Regions from separate parts of the Homo sapiens genome. Here region 2 is linked to region 1. Evidence: promoter capture Hi-C in human tissues and cell types (Jung and others, 2019). All regions are on one chromosome and are shown on one strand. The core of a region is centred on a gene start or on the middle of the fragment in contact, and the rest is flanking DNA. Distances in the headings are between cores, read along the strand shown.

What was found. Contacts are between HindIII fragments. The study calls those that stand out against the background at their distance.
Region 2: a fragment that was not itself captured here is called in contact with the fragment with the promoter of EPO in region 1 in 5 of the 25 tissues and cell types used here (H1 embryonic stem cells, small bowel, spleen and 2 more).

What each region holds. Positions count from the first base shown.
Region 1 is chr7:100,715,402-100,722,995 of GRCh38, reverse strand. It overlaps EPO (erythropoietin), which reads right to left and starts at 2,528. Exons shown (of 5, transcript NM_000799.4): 1 at 2,003-2,528; 2 at 1,293-1,438; 3 at 948-1,034; 4 at 153-332; 5 at 1-18. The coding sequence starts at 2,015. The HindIII fragment of the contact is 31,866 bases long and covers 1-5,227 here.
Region 2 is chr7:100,758,948-100,766,541 of GRCh38, reverse strand. ZAN (zonadhesin) reads right to left here. Exons shown (of 48, transcript NM_003386.3): 18 at 6,697-6,821; 19 at 6,006-6,151; 20 at 4,184-4,327; 21 at 2,626-2,736; 22 at 2,346-2,515; 23 at 988-1,190; 24 at 1-17. Among named protein-coding and RNA genes, the nearest start is that of ZAN, 29 kb to the right of the region's middle. The HindIII fragment of the contact is 7,390 bases long and covers 1,268-7,594 here.

The DNA of each region.
Region 1 (7,594 bases), core at 1,279-3,778:
AGGGGAGATGGCTTCCTTCTGCCAAGGAGAAAACAGGAGGTCGCTGCAGTGCCACAGAAAGGGAAGGAATACGGACAGTTCCTGTACTCCTTAGCAAGACCCTTCTCCCCTTCTTACAGAAAGGGCAAGCAGAAGTGTCCGCTCCTACTCACCTGGGCTCCCAGAGCCCGAAGCAGAGTGGTGAGGCTGCGAAGGCCACTGACGGCTTTATCCACATGCAGCTGCAGGGGCTCCCACGGCTGGGAAGAGTTGACCAACAGGGCCTGGCCCCGCAGGACAGCTTCCGACAGCAGGGCCAGGCCCTGCCAGACTTCTACGGCCTGCTGCCCGACCTACAGGGAGTGGACTCTGGGAGTCAGCTGACCCATGTCACCCTCTCCCTCCTGCCCCTCAGCAGCCCCAAGCACCAAGCTGAGCAAACAGAAGGTATGCAATAAGACTTGTTGAATGAATGAATGAATGAATGAGTGAGTGAGTGAGTGAGTGAATGAATAATGAATGTATTCCATACAGCCCTCATTATTTTTCTTTTTTCTTTTCTTTTTTGAGACAGGGCCTCACTCTGTCACTGAGGCTGGAGTGCAGTGGTGTGATCACAGCTCACTGCAGCCTCAAATTCCTGGGCTCAAGCGATCCTCCCGCCTCAGCCTTCCAAATATCTGGGACTACCACCATGCACCACCTCACCTGACTAATTTTTTTAAATGTTTGTAGAGATGGGGGATCTCACTATGCTGCCTAGGTTGGTCTGAAACTCCAGGGCTCAAGCAATTCTCCCATCTCGGCCATCTCAGCCTGGGATTATAGACGTGAGCCTCTGCGCCCAGGCAGCCTCATCTCTGCTGCTCCATTTTACCTTTCCCTCGATCATTCTCCCTTTCATCCAAAATCAGGCTCGCAAATGAGATTCTCCAAAAGAAAGGAAAAAAAAAAAAAAAGGAACTCACCTCCATCCTCTTCCAGGCATAGAAATTAACTTTGGTGTCTGGGACAGTGATATTCTCATTCAAGCTGCAGTGTTCAGCACAGCCCGTCTGAAATGCACACAGCCCGGGGAGTCAAGGGTCCCTGAAGGCTCTGGCCCTGGCCCACAGGCCGTAGGATCTGCTGGCTTTGCTCCTTGCCTAGTTTCCAGGTATGGTTTGGGGCCACCAGACTTATTCTTATGTAGGGGGGCAGTGTCTAGCTTCCCAACTCCACCCCAAACCAAGTGCCAGGTTCCTGGATCTGGGAGGAGTTCCCTGAAGCCCTGAGCGTGAGTTCTGTGGAATGTGCTGGGGAAGGGGTCTCACCGTGATATTCTCGGCCTCCTTGGCCTCCAAGAGGTACCTCTCCAGGACTCGGCTGTCACAGATGAGGCGTGGTGGGGCGCCCAGGACTGGGAGGCCCAGAGGGAGCGACAGCAGGGACAGGAGAAGCCACAGCCAGGCAGGACATTCTAGAACAGATAGCCAGGCTGAGAGTCAGGCGGGGAGGGAGAAGGGTGGCTGTGGAAGGACAGCTTCCTTCATCCCCACGTCTCTGCCCCAGCTCGTCCTTCCTGTCCCCAACCATGCAAGCACTCAGGTGCTGCCTCCCTGGCCTTCATTCAATCCTGCTGCCGTGTGCACACCCCACCCCCAGCTACCAGCATCCACTTCTCCGGCCAAACTTCAATCCTGGTGTGACAGAGGCTTCCCCTCTGGCAGATAAGTGGTGGCTCCAGCGCCCAGGTTATCAGCTTATCAGCTTCCTCTCCACTGGCACAGCAGAACCCCCAAACCTTCTTCCCCTCAACCCCCAAACTGTGTCCCCTTCACAGGTCAGGTTTTTGCCATCCCCAAGGACTCCCCCAAGTCCCCGCTGGCACGTGGAGGCTGCCCCACCCCCCTCCCCCTTCCGGGGTCCTTGACAAGTCGCCGGTCCTTGAACCCAGCCACCTCCTGGCCAATAGCCGGGGCGCTAAATCCCCGCTCAAACAGGGACCCGGGCGGGCGGGAGCGCCCAGCCCGCGAGTACTCACCGTGCACCCCCATCTCCGCGCCTGGCCGGGGTCCCTCAGCGACCTGGGGCGCGCCGGGTGACCACACCGGGGGCCCTCATCCCGGGAAGCTCGGCGGTGCAGGGCCAGCCCCACGGGCCTGGAGGAGAGGGCGGCTGTCCAGGGGGCGCGGTGTCGGAGCAGAGCGGGCGCGGTGGCCCCGGTCCGGCTCCGGGAGGACAGCGCGGTGCGGCGCAGCGCAGCGAGCGGCCGGGGTGGCCCAGGGACTCTGCGGCTCTGGCCGGGGGTCGGGGCTGTTATCTGCATGTGTGCGTGCGCGGGTGGGGGTGGGGGAGAGGCTGTGTGCGTGAGGGGTCGCCAGGGGTAGGGGCCACCCGGGGTCAGAGCAGGGGCAGGACGCCTGGGTTGAGGCTCGCCGGGGCGTGAGCGGGGCTGCTGCAGACGTGCGTGTGGGTCATGGGGGCTGCTCCCGGGCCCTGGGTCGCGGGAGGGGAGTGCAGCCGGTTGCGCACCCTTGGGACTGGCGGAGCGTGCTATCTGGGAAAGGCTGGGCTCCCGGACACCTCCCCTGGGGGGCATCCCGGTCTTGGGCGGAGACTCAGAGATGCCTGGGTTGCTGAGTTCCGCAAAGTAGCTGGGTCTGGAAGCCCAGAAGCTTTAGGGAGGGGCAAATGAGTGGTCTCCCTTCCCACAATCCCAGGACATGTTCTAGAAACAATGTTGACCATGTTGAGGAATTTGATGGGGGCAAATAGGGCAAGAAATTTGGGGTTCTTCCTCCCCACCTCACTCCTCACCGTCTAGTACTCTGCAAACCCAGACACTTAACTTTTTTTTTTTTTTCTGGAGATGTAGCCTCCCTATGTTGCCCAGGCAGTGCAGTGGTGCCATCTCCCGTTCACTACAACCTCTGCCTCCTGGGTTCAAGCAATTCTCCTGCTTCAGCCTCTGGAGCAGCTGGGACTACAGGCACACCTTTACACCCGGCTATGTTTTGTATTTTTAGTAGAGATGGGGTGTTGCCATATTGCCCATACCGGTCTTGAACTCCTGACCTCAGGTGATCCACCCTCCTCGGCCTCTCAAAGTGCTGGGATTGCAGGCGTGAGCCACCGCACCCAGCCCCCACCCCAGACACTTAACTTTTAGTGCACAGAGCACACAGTCCATTGTGCAGGACACACATGCACCTTGACATCTGTTTATTTGACCTGTGGTGTAGGTTAGCTAGGCTGCATTGCTGAGTTCTTAAGAACACTGAAATACAGCTAACACCAAGAGTGATGGGGGCTGGGATTTACAGCTAAGGTTTTATGGCTTCTGGAAACCCTGAGCCAGAGGAGTGAGATTCCCAGAGCAGGAGACCAAGACTAGCTGGTCTCTCACACCTTAGAAAGTGGCCTCGTCCTTGAGCCCTCAATGTCCTCATCTGTCAAATGGGTGTGGTGAAACTACCAGCCTATCCCATTCAGGTTTCATAAAAGACAGGAAAGGTCCAGGCGCCGCAGCTGACACCTATAATCCCAGCACTTTGGGAGACCAAGGCAGGAAGATCCTTTGAGCCCAGGAGTTCGAGACCAGCCCGGACAACATGGCAAGACCTTGTCTCTAAAATAAATAAATAAATAAAAAATAATTAGTCAGGTGTGGTGGCTCACGCCTGTAGTCCCAAATATGCAGGAGGCTAAGGCAGGAGGATCACCTGAGCCCAGGAGTTCGAGGCCGTAGTGAGCCATGATCGTGCCACTGCACTGCAGCCTGGGCGACAGAGTGAGAGCCTGTCTCAAAAACAAAAAAAGACTGGAATGTGTAGATCTGAGCTGTAAGAGTTAGCCGGGAGAAATCAAGAAAGATTTGAGGGAGGAGGTGACAATGACCTCAGCCTTGAAGGGGGGTAGGACATCAATGGGAAGAGGTATGAGGTGGGTGGGGGATTGTCGATTCAGCAAAGTGAATGGAGAGTCAGGTGAGTATTGCGGGATCTGGCCAGCAGCCCGCAATGCAACAGGGCTCTCTCTTTGTTCCCAGGCGGATCAGCAGGTTGAGAAATAATAGACACACACAAGATAGTGAAAGCTGGTCCGGGGGGTCACCGCCTTCTGGTCCCGTGGTGTCAACAATGCACCAGATGTACCATCATTTATTATTAAGTTTAGTGAGGGCGGGGGTAGGTTAGTGAGGGATTTAGGGTCATTTGATTATGAGGTGAGATGGTCACATGGGGATGAATTAATTCTTTAACATAACATTTATATGTAGAAGTACAGTACATTTGTATGCAGAAGTACAGTATACAGAGATAAGAATTTACAATATAGTGTGTGCATCAGTAATTTCTAACAGAGCCTTAAAACAGAAACACAATCTTTCCATAACCTATGATTAGCAAGATACTAATCAGCAGTAACAATTGCAACAAAAGCTGGTTACAGACAATCCATGGAAACAGGACATGAAGCTAGACAACCAGTTAGACCAGAAATTCTCAGAAGGGAGTATGCCTTAACCCTAAAGAGGCCTAGAAGAGCCATGGCAAGATGAGGGCGTTTATAGCCCTATCTTATCCATATGGACAGGTGCCCCCCGCCCCCATGCGTCCGTTTATAGGCTCTCCACAAGGGTCGCATTCCATTCCCAGAGCTATGAACATCTGCTTTTCTGGGATAGAAATCTTGGTGATGTGAAACCTCCCTGACTGCAGGTCCGTTCATAGGCTCTCCGCAGGCGGAAGCACATCACAGGCTGTTGGCTCATTCTGGCAGTCCAACCTGGCATTGTTTGTACACAATCCTGCATGCAATTTTGTATTTACAATAATCAGGAGCATTTCATCTTTTATTCCGTAGCAGTAGTTTCAGGGGGTCTCCCTACAGGTGAGCAGAAGGGAAGATGGAGAAGAGAGAGGTGGAAGATGAGGCCAGGGTGCTGCTTAGGGAGGAGTCAGGCTGTCTATGGCCTTGAATGCCTCTCTGAAGAATTTGGATTTTGTTTGGAAAGAGTGGGAAACATTCACTCATTCATTCAAAAGATATTTATGGATTTCCTACCTACCCCTGGCCAAGGACCTGGGGATAGAGCAGTGAATGATACAGCCAGGAATGCCTGCCCTGGTGGAGCTGATGTTCTAGTGGGGTTGCCAATGATGAACACAAAAATGGGTACAAGACAGAGGATTTTGGCTGGGTGAGGTGGCTCATGCCTGTAATCCCAGCACTTCGGGAGGCCAAGGCAAGAGGATCACTTGAGCCCAGGAGTTGGCTTGACCAGCCTGGGCAACATGGTGAAACCCCATCTTTACAAAAAAATACAAAAATTAGCTGGGCATGATGGCATGTGCCTATAGTCCCAGCTACTTGGGAGGCTGAGGTGGGAGGATCACTTCAGCCCAGGAAGTTGAGGCTGCAGTGAGCTGTGGTTTTGCTACTGCACTCCACCCTGGGCAACAGAATGAGACCCTGTCTCAAAAAAAAAAAAAAAAAAGAAAGAAAAGAAAAGAAAAGATAGAGGATTTCAAATAGCCAGAACTAAGGAGAAAAGGCACAGGCAGGGTTATCTAAAATAAGGTAGTCAGAGACACTAGGCTGAGAAACTGACTTGAATAAAGACCTGTTGGGGGTGAGGGACCATGAGGGTGTGGTGAGGTGAAGAGCTTGATGGGAGGGGGATTTGGGCCAAGTGTAGTGGCTCACACCTGTAATCCCAACATTTTGGGAGGCTGAGGCAGGAGGATTGCTTGAGGCCAGGAGTTTGAGACCAGCCTGGGCAACATAGTGAGATCCCATGTCTATAATTTTTATTTTTGTTTAGCTAGCTGGGCATGGTGGTGCACATCTGTAGTCCCAGCTACTCAGGAGGCTGAGGTCAGAGGATCTCTTGAGCCCGGGAGGTTGAGGCTGCAGTGAGCTATGATCACGCCACTGCACTCTAGACTGGGCAACAAAGGGAGACCCTGTCTCAAAAAAAAAAAAGAAAAAATGAGTGGTTTGGCAAGATGGTTGGGTGGGGGTCAGGAGACAGAGGCTGGTATGCTTCTGGCTGGCCTAATTCCCTCAGACCCTGCTCCCCTGCATCCTCTGCTCACCTTGAGCCTTCCCAAAACTGCTGTCCAGGCTCCCCCAGCCCCACTCGGCTCCTGGTTCTGATCCCTTCCAGAGTCCTGGGACGTGCACCATCACACTCACATCCACACATGGCCGCACGTGCGTTCTGTCTTGGCTGCTCCCCTTCCCCAGCCTCTGCTCTCCCAGGACCCTGACTCCTGCGTCAATGCCCTGACCTAACCATGGAGAGGGGGCCGGAGACAGATGGGTGGGGTGGACACAGCTGGAGGAGGAGGAGCCTTTTGGGCTGTGGGACCTGCCCCTCCCCTCACACAGCTTCTCGGGGGTCCCTGCATCCTTGTCTGCAGTTGAAGAGGAGTGAGAGATGGGCCAGGGGCACCAGCCTCTAAATGCTGTAGCCTGCTGGATAGGAGTAGTGACTGCCTTGTCCCCTGGGGCTTCTGGAGAGAGAGCTGTGATTGCAGCTTGGGAGGGAGGAGAGGATCTTGGTCCACCCCATACCCAATCCGAAGCCATAGTAATTCTCTTTTTGAGATGGAGTCTCACTCTATTGCCCAGGCTGGAGTGCAGTGGTGCCATTATCTCAGCTCACTGCAACCTCCACCTCCCGGGTTCAAGCAATTCTCCTGCCTCAGCCTCCCGAGTAGCTGGAATTACAGGCATGTGCCACCACGCCCGGTAATTTTTGTATTTTCAGTAGAGATGGGGTTTCGCCATGTTGGCCAGGCTGGTCTCGAACTCCCAACCTCAAGTGATCCGCCCGCCTCGGCCTCCCAAAGTGCTGGGATTACAGGCGTGAGCCACCACACCCGGCTTGAAGCCATAGTAATTCTGCTAAGAGGGGAGAGGCTGGTTTGGAGCCCAGAGCCTCTTGGATACTGAGCAATGCAGGGTCCATTCATCTGTCCTTGAGGAACAGGAAGAAAACAAGAAGCTCCATGGGGCTCCCCGACCAATGCCCACCATCCCCCTGCCCAGTGCCCCCCACCCCCGTCATCTGCCTGCTCTTCATCTTCTAGCAGATGCTGACCCACAGGCCCAGGACCACTGCAGAGCATCTCCTCATTGACCCCTCCAGTTAATCCCTAACCCTGCTGCTCAATTAACTTTCCCACTGAACAGCCTCATTTGTGCTAATTCCCTGAGCAGGAACCTGTCACGGCTTCCTATTGCCTCAGAACTGAGACCCTCCAAGGTCTACCATTCACTTCATGTTCCAGGCTGTTCTCCCGCTTTGCTCACTCCCACTCCCTCCACCACAGGAGATGGTTTGTGCCTTCCTGCCCTTGGCTCATCCTGGATTACCCTCCCACACCATCTCCTCGTTTTCTTTAAAGCCCAAATCTGTGCATCGCCTCCTCCATGAAGCCTTTCTTGATCTCCCAGCAGGAAATCGTCTCCTTCCCTGGCACTGCCGTCATTTATGTACATGTCTTAGGCATCTCACTGGCAGGACCGCCATGGACAGCCGTCAAAGATGAGCACTGCCCAACTCCCAGGGGCATCCATAGAGACTCTGAAGGGAATGGTACCGTCTGGAGTCACGTAGTGC
Region 2 (7,594 bases), core at 3,713-6,212, 41 kb before region 1:
TACCACCGCTCCCCTACCTGGGGAAGACAGCAGGGAAGGAAGAGAAAGTGTTTTTTTTTGCTTTGTTTTGTTTTTTCCCAGATCTGACACCAGAGCTCACCAGAGCTGTTCAGATCACTGGCTTAATAGTGGGGAGACATCCTCTCTTCCTGAAGCTCCGAGATTCGCTGCAAAAGCTTGGCATCCATTCGTTTTTTCAGTCACTACATCATTTCTGGGTCTGTTCATCATTTCAACCAAAATTGATCTATCCGAGGCCAGGTGTGGCGGCTCACGCCTGTGATCCCAGCACTTTGGGAGGCCAAGGCGGGTGGATCACTTGAGGTCAGGAGTTTGAGACCAGCCTGGCCAACATGGAGAAACCCCATCTGTACTAAAAATACAAAAATTAGCCTGGCGTGGTAGTGCACGCCTGTAATCCCAGCTACTTGGGAGGCTTAGGCGGGAGAATCGCTTGAACCTGGGAGGCGGAGGTTGCAGTGAGCTGAGACCGTGCCACTGCACTCCAGCCCGGACAACAGATCGAGACTCTGTCTCAAAAAAAAAACAAAAACCAAAAACAACAACAAAAAACCAAAAAACAAGGGCCAGGCATGGTGGCTCATGCCTGTAATCCCAGCACTTTGGGAGGCCCAGGTGGGCAGATCACAAGGTCAAGAGATCAAGACCATCCTGGCCAACATGGTGAAACCGCCCCCTACCCCGTCTCTACTAAAAATACAAGAATTAGCTGGGCATGGTGGTGCATGCCTGTAGTCCCAGCTACTCGGGAGGCTGAGGCAGGAGAATCACTTGAACCCAGGAGGCGGAAGTTGCAGTGAGCCGAGATCGTGCCACTGCACTCCAGCCTGGCGACAGAGCAAAACTCCGTCTCAAAAACAAAACAAAACAAGAAACGAAAAGAAAAGAAAGAGCTTGCAGGGGGTGTGAGAGCAGGGAGCAGGCCCTTTCTAGCTGCAGGGCTGAGAGGTCCACGCAGCCGCTCACCTTGAAGTAGCTGCCTGCAGGGTGGAGGCACCCACACTGGGAGCGAGGTATGCACTCGAGGCCACTGAGGACGAAGCCCGGATTGCATTCACAGGCCTCCACGCACCGGTCTGAGCAGAACATGCCGGAGAATCCTGAATGGCAGGTGTCAGGGCATGGCTTCGCACACAGGGAGTACTTGCTGTTGGGCGGGCAGGCCATTGCTGGTGGAGGGAGAAGCTTGGGTGAGAAGGAGACGAACAAGCCACGGGGCTGGGTGGGAAACAGGAAGGACACGTTCGGAAGGGCCCCAGCTCCAGGCTTCTGGCCAATCTCGAGAAGAGAGAGTGACTGTGAGAAGCTTCCCCAAGGAGCCTGGCTGGCTCCCTGGGGCTGCAGGGCCAGCACTAAGGCGCCGGCCCTGAGAGACTTAGATAGACCTATGGTGGGAGCAGATGGACCCACCACTGGCAGCGCTGCTGTGTAGACATGCCCCAGGTGAGCTGTTGGCCCGCAGGGGACCGGGGCCACCTGTGAGGTCTGAGTCAGGGGATAGGCCTGCCCTAAAGCAGCTTCCCCAAAGAGCTGGGCCACACCAGGAGCTGGGAGGCAGCCTCGTTGCCTCCCCTGCCTAGGGCCTGTACCGTGTGCCTGCGTGTGATGACTTGGGCTGCACAGAAACACTTTTTTTTTTTTAAAGACAGAGTTTCGCTCTCACTGCCCAGGCTGTAGTGCAGTGGCGCAATCTCTGCTTACTGCAACCTCCACCTCCCGGGTTCAAGCGATTTTCCTGCCTCAGCCTCCCAAGTAGCTGGGATTACAGGCGCCCGTTGCCACACACAGCTAATTTTTGTATATTTATTTATTTATTATTTTTATTATTTTTTGAGATGGAGTCTCATTCTGTCACCCAGGCTGGAGTGCAGTGGTGCAATCTCGGCTCACTGCAACCTCCGCCTCCCAGGTTCAAGCAATTCTCCTGCCTCAGCCTCCAAGTAGCTGGGATTACAGGTACCCGTTGCCACACACAGCTAATTTCTGTATTTTTATTTATTTATTTATTTATTTTATTTTATTTTTTGAGATGGAGTCTCACTCTGTCGCCCAGGCTGGAGTGCAGTGGCGCAATCTCGGCTCACTGCAACCTCTGCCTCCCGGGTTCAAGCGATTCTCCTGCCTCAGCCTCCAGTGTAGCTGGGACTACAGGCATATGCCACCATGCCTGGCTAATTTTGGTATGTTTAGTAGAGACGGGGTGTTGGCCAGGCTGGTCCCAAACTCCTGATCTCATGATCCACCTGCCTCGGACTCCCAAAGTGCTGGGATTATAGGTGTGAGCCACCGTGCCCGGCCTCTCCTCTGAGTTTGGCACAACTCACGGCAGAAGTGGGGTTCCCTCCAGGGCTTCACAGCGTGGCCTGCGTCCTGGCAGGTGGTGGTCATGGTGGACATGTGTGTGCACAGCAGGTGCTGCAGCCCCTGGAATCCGCACATATCAAGCATGCAGCTGTCGAAGAAGGAAGCGGCCTTCACGTGCAGCAGGCATGTCCTGAGGGGAGTGACCAAGTCAGGGGGAATGCAGTGGAAGGGGGTAGAGCCTTGGAGGAGCCCAGGTGCCAAGCATCGCCCCTGTGCGACCCTGCCTGCCCTCCTTCATACTCAAATGGGCCATGAGTGTCGACCAGCCGTCCACAGAACCCTGGCCCCGACATGCTGCTCTGCAGAGATGAATCACAAGACGGGGAATTCACCACCTGGTACTTCTGACACCTGCAAGAGACCCACCCCAAACTCCCTAAAGACAAAGCTCGCTTCCAGCTCATCCCTAACCCAGCAGGCAGCAAGGCTGGCAGGCCGGGACCGGCAAACCAGCCTGTCAGCTGGGAAACCCCTCCCAGAGGATGTTTGACCACTGAGCCCTGGCCAGGCACTGTGGGAGGCCGAGGCAGGGAGAATTGCTTGAGCCCAGGAGTTCCAGGCCAGCCTGGGTAACACACTGAGATCCCATCTCTTTAAAAATAAATATGAAATTATTTATTTCATATTTCATATGGCGCACGTCCATAGCCCCAGCTACTCAGGAGGCTGAGGTGAGAGAATCTGTTGAGCCCAGGAGTTGGAGCCTGCAGTGAGCTGTGATTGAACCACTGCACTCCAGCCTGGGCGACAGAGCAAGGCCCTGTCTCTAAAAACAAACAAACAAACAAACAAAAAAGAATATTGAGCAACTGAAAGAACAACTTGAAGTCTCCAGGGTAGAGAGGAGAAAGGGGCAATGCCAGTCATTTTTTAAAGGGAGGGCACAGGCTGGGTGTGGTGGTGATGCCTGTAATCCCGGCATTTTGCATTTTGGGAGGCCAGGGCAGGTGAATCACCTGAGGTCAGGAGTTCGAAACCAGCCTGGCCAACATGATGAAACCCCGTCTCTACTAAAAATACAAAAATCAGACAGGTGTGGTGGCATGTGCCTATAATCTCATTGGGATTGAGGCGTGAGAATCACTTGAGCCCAGGAGGCAGAGGTTTCAGTGAGCTGAGATTGCACAACTACACTCTAGCCTGGGTGACACAGCAAGACTCCATCTCAAAAAAAAAAAAAAAAACCGTTGGGGAGGGCCAGCAGCCTGGTCAACCCCCCATCTGGTGAGAACCCCATGTCTACCAAAAAATTTTGTTAAAGTTAGCTGGGCATGGTGTAGTCCAAGCTACTTGGGAGGCAGAGAAGGGAGGATTGCTTGAGCTCAGGAGTTTGAGGCTGCAGTAAGCCACGATCGTGCCATTGCACTCCAGCTTGGAAGACAGAGGGAGATCCCATCTCAAAAAAAAAAAAAGGGCGGGTGGAGGGCTGGACGTGGTGGTGTGGTGGCTCACACCTGTAATCCCAGAACTTTGAGAGGCCAAGGCAGGTGGATCACTTGAGGCCAGGAGTTTGAGACCAGCCTGGCCAGCATGGTGAAACCCCATCTCTACAAAAATACTAAAATTAGCTGTGTGTGGTGGCAGGTGCCTGTAATCCCAGCTACTCGGGAGACTGAGGCAGGATAATTGCTTGAGCCTGGGAGGCGGAGGTTGCAGTGAGCTGAGATCGCACCACTGCACTCCAGCCTAAGCGACAGAAGGAGACTCCATCTCAAAAAAAAAAAAAAAAAAAAAAAAGAGAGTTCCAGGAAGGGGACGGAACCTTCCCAGGGCCCCGGTGGGAGGGCTCCTTGCTCACTCCTGGTCCTCGTCCTGGTCCGTCTGCCAGCTGTTCCCCAGCTCCTCCTTGTCTCCTGCTGGGCTGCCGTCCAACTTCAGGTGGTCATTGTCACTGTTGCCGTCATAGTTCCCACACAAACCACAGAGTTTGCCAGAGTATGTGCTAGGGGAACAGGAGAGGAGCTGGCGTTAATGGAGAGAAGCAGCCTCGGTCCTCGAGGGGCAGTGGCAGAGAAGGCAAGGAGCTGGGATCCTAAAACAGAGGGCGTGAGGAGGATGAAGAGGTGCGGACTGGACAAGAGGACCCCATGGCCCTCCCCCAAGCCTCCTTCCCCTCTGTTCATTGTCCAGCCACAGCAAACCCCTTGCTGGCCCTAAAACACTCCCACTTTATTTATTTATTTATTTATTTATTTATTTATTTATTTATCCTTTTTTTCAGATGGAGTCTCTCTCCGTCACCTAGGCTAGAGGGCAGTGGTGCAACCTCGGCTCACTGCAACCTCCACCTCCCGGGTTCTAGTGATTCTCCTGCCTCAGCCTTCCGAGTAGCTGGGATTACAGGCACACACCACCACGCCCAGCTAATTTTTTTGTATTTTTAGTAGAGATGGGGTTTCACCATGTTGGCCAGGCTGGTCTCAAACTCCTAATCTGCCTGCCTTGGCCTCCCAGAGTGCTGGGATTACAGGTGTCAGCCACCGTGCCTGGCCAAATTATTTATTTATTTTTTTATTTATTTTAGAGATAGGGTCACCCTCTGTGGCTCAGGCTGGAGCACAGTGGTGCAATCTCGGCTCACTGCAGCCTCCAACTCCTGGGTTCAAGCGATTCTCCCACCTCAGCCTCCTGAGTAGCTGAGACTACAGGCAAGTACCACCACGAGAAGCTAATTTTTTTTTAAGAGACAGGATCTCACTATGTTGTCCAGGCTGGTCTGGAACTCCTGGCCTCAAGTGATCCTCTTGCTTCGGCCTCCCAGCATGCTGAGATTATAGGTGCAGGCCACTACGCCTGGCTAATATTTAAATTTTTTTGTGGAGATATGGTCTCACTATGTTGCCCAGGCTGGTCTGGAATTCCTGGCCCCAAGGGATTCTCCCGTCTCAGCCTCCCAAAGTTCAGGGCTACAGGCGGGAACCCCTGCACCTGGCCTCTATAAAGTATTTTTATAAAGTCTTTCTTTCGCCGGGCACAGTGGCTCCCCTGTAATTCCAAGACTTTGGGAGGCCGAGGCAGGAGGATCGCCTGAAGTCAGGAGTTCGAGACAAGCCTGGGCAACATGATGAAATCCCATCTCTACTAAAAACAAAAATTAGCTGGGCATGGTGGTGTGCGCCTGTAATCCCAGCTACTTGGGAGGCTGAGGCAGGAGAATTGCTGAACCTGGGAGGCAGAGGTTGCAGTGAGCCGAGATAGCACCACTGCACTCCAGCCTAGGGAACAGAGCGAGAGATCCTGTCTCAAAAAAAAGAAGAAGAAGAATCTTGCTTTCCCTTGTTTTGTCCATCTGGGGAGCCACTCTTCCTTCGAGAATGGGACCAGGTGACTGCCCTTCAGAAAGCCTCCAGAACTCACTAGTGCTCCTTCTAGCACATTCCCAAAGCATGTACATCCATCCTGCTATCTATCACATGCCCCGAAACCATTTTCTCCTGTCTCCTGGTCCAAAGGGATCCCTGCCACTTAAGCAGGGTGCTTCCCATCCGTGAATGCATAAAGGATCAAGTAGTGGTGCCAGGGATGGAAGGGGAGTGGGCAGGGTGGGCAGCAGGAAGAAGAGGCAGCAGGAAGAGGCAGCAGGAAGAAGTGGCAGCTGCCTGGCTGGGACACTGCCTTACCTGGACACAGTAACATACAGCTGCTGGTCACCATCCCATCTCACCCGCAAACCGAACTCCGTCTGCAGCTCCACAAACCGCCCGCTTGCACCCAGGAAGACGCCTTTAGAGGGTATGGCTGGGAGAGTAACTTGCTGACCCCCAACCTGGAAGGCAGGGCAGAGGCAAGAGACAGACAGAGCTGGGGGTCAAGGAGGACCCCAGCAGACTTTCATTTCCATAGCTGGGAGGCAGGACACCATCCACAGCGGCCTAACAATCTCATCCACCAGGAGTGGACTGGAGCTTCCTCACCACTGTTTTGTTTTTGTTTTTGTTTTTAGGAGACAGTGTCTTACTATGTTGCCTAGGCTGGAGTGCAATGGTGCAATCACAGCTCACTGCAGCCTCGACCTCCCAGGCTCCAGCAATCCTCCCACCTCAGCCTCTGGAGTAGAGGGGACAACAGGCAAGTGCCACCACACCAGGCTAATTTTTTCTATTTTTTAAGAGACAGGGTCTTGCTATCTTGCCCAGGCTGGCTTCAAACTCCTGGCCTCAAGCAATCCTCCCACTTTAGCCTCCCAAGGAGCTGGGATTGCAGGTCACTGTCTTGTTGAACCCCATCCGTGGAAAGGTTCAGGGATTGGAAGGGTTGGCCAGGACACACAGTCAGACCCTGCAAGGATGGTGGGGGTGGAATGGGGCTCACCAGAGTGCGTCTGCCCTTAAGCAGGGTGACGGTGCTCTCGGGCAGGGTCACGTAGACTTTGCTCAGGCAGGACACGCCTTCCTGTCCCTGCTCCTCATTCTTGGCTGTCACCCTGAAGAATGGGTCTGGGTAGGGAGAGGAATGAAGAGAGCCCAGTGGCTCATTTCTGAACATCTGCCGCGAGCAGTGCCCTGAGCCTGGCGCCGCAGGGAGAGATGAGCGCCACCGAGACACCAGCCCCAAAGTCCAGTAGGGGAGGCCGGATCCACACAGGAGCAGACCACGACTGCCTCTTCCAGAAGAGCCTGCAGCCGCAGCGTGTCTGTCTCCACTCAGTGGCTGGAACATCCTCCAGGGCGTCTGTGCTCCCTAACCACTACCACTGCCTTCTTTGCTTTTTTGTTTTTAACTTCATTTATGTGTGTATTTATTTATTTTTCGAGACAAGATCTCACTTTGCTACCCAGGCTGGAGTGCAGTGGTGTGATCATAGCTCACTGCAGCCTCCAACTCTTGGGCTCAAGCGATCCTCCTGCCTCATCCTCCCGACTAGCTGGGACTATAGGTGTGTCCCACCATACCCAGCTGATTTTTTAATTTTTTTTTTTTTCTGAGACAGAGTTTTGCTCTTGCTGCTTAGGCTAGAGTGCAGGAGTGCAGTGGCTCGATCTTGGCTCACTGCAACCTCCGCCTCCCAGGTTCAAGCAATTCTCCTGCCTCAGCCTCCCAAGTAGCTGGGATTACAGGTGCCTGCCACCAAGCCTGGCTAATTTTTTATATTTTTAGTAGAGACGGGGTTTCACCATGTTGACCAGGCTGGTCTCAAACTCCTGACCTCAGGTGAACCCCCCACCTCGGCTTCCCAAAGTGTTGGGGTTACAGGCGTGAGCCACTGAGC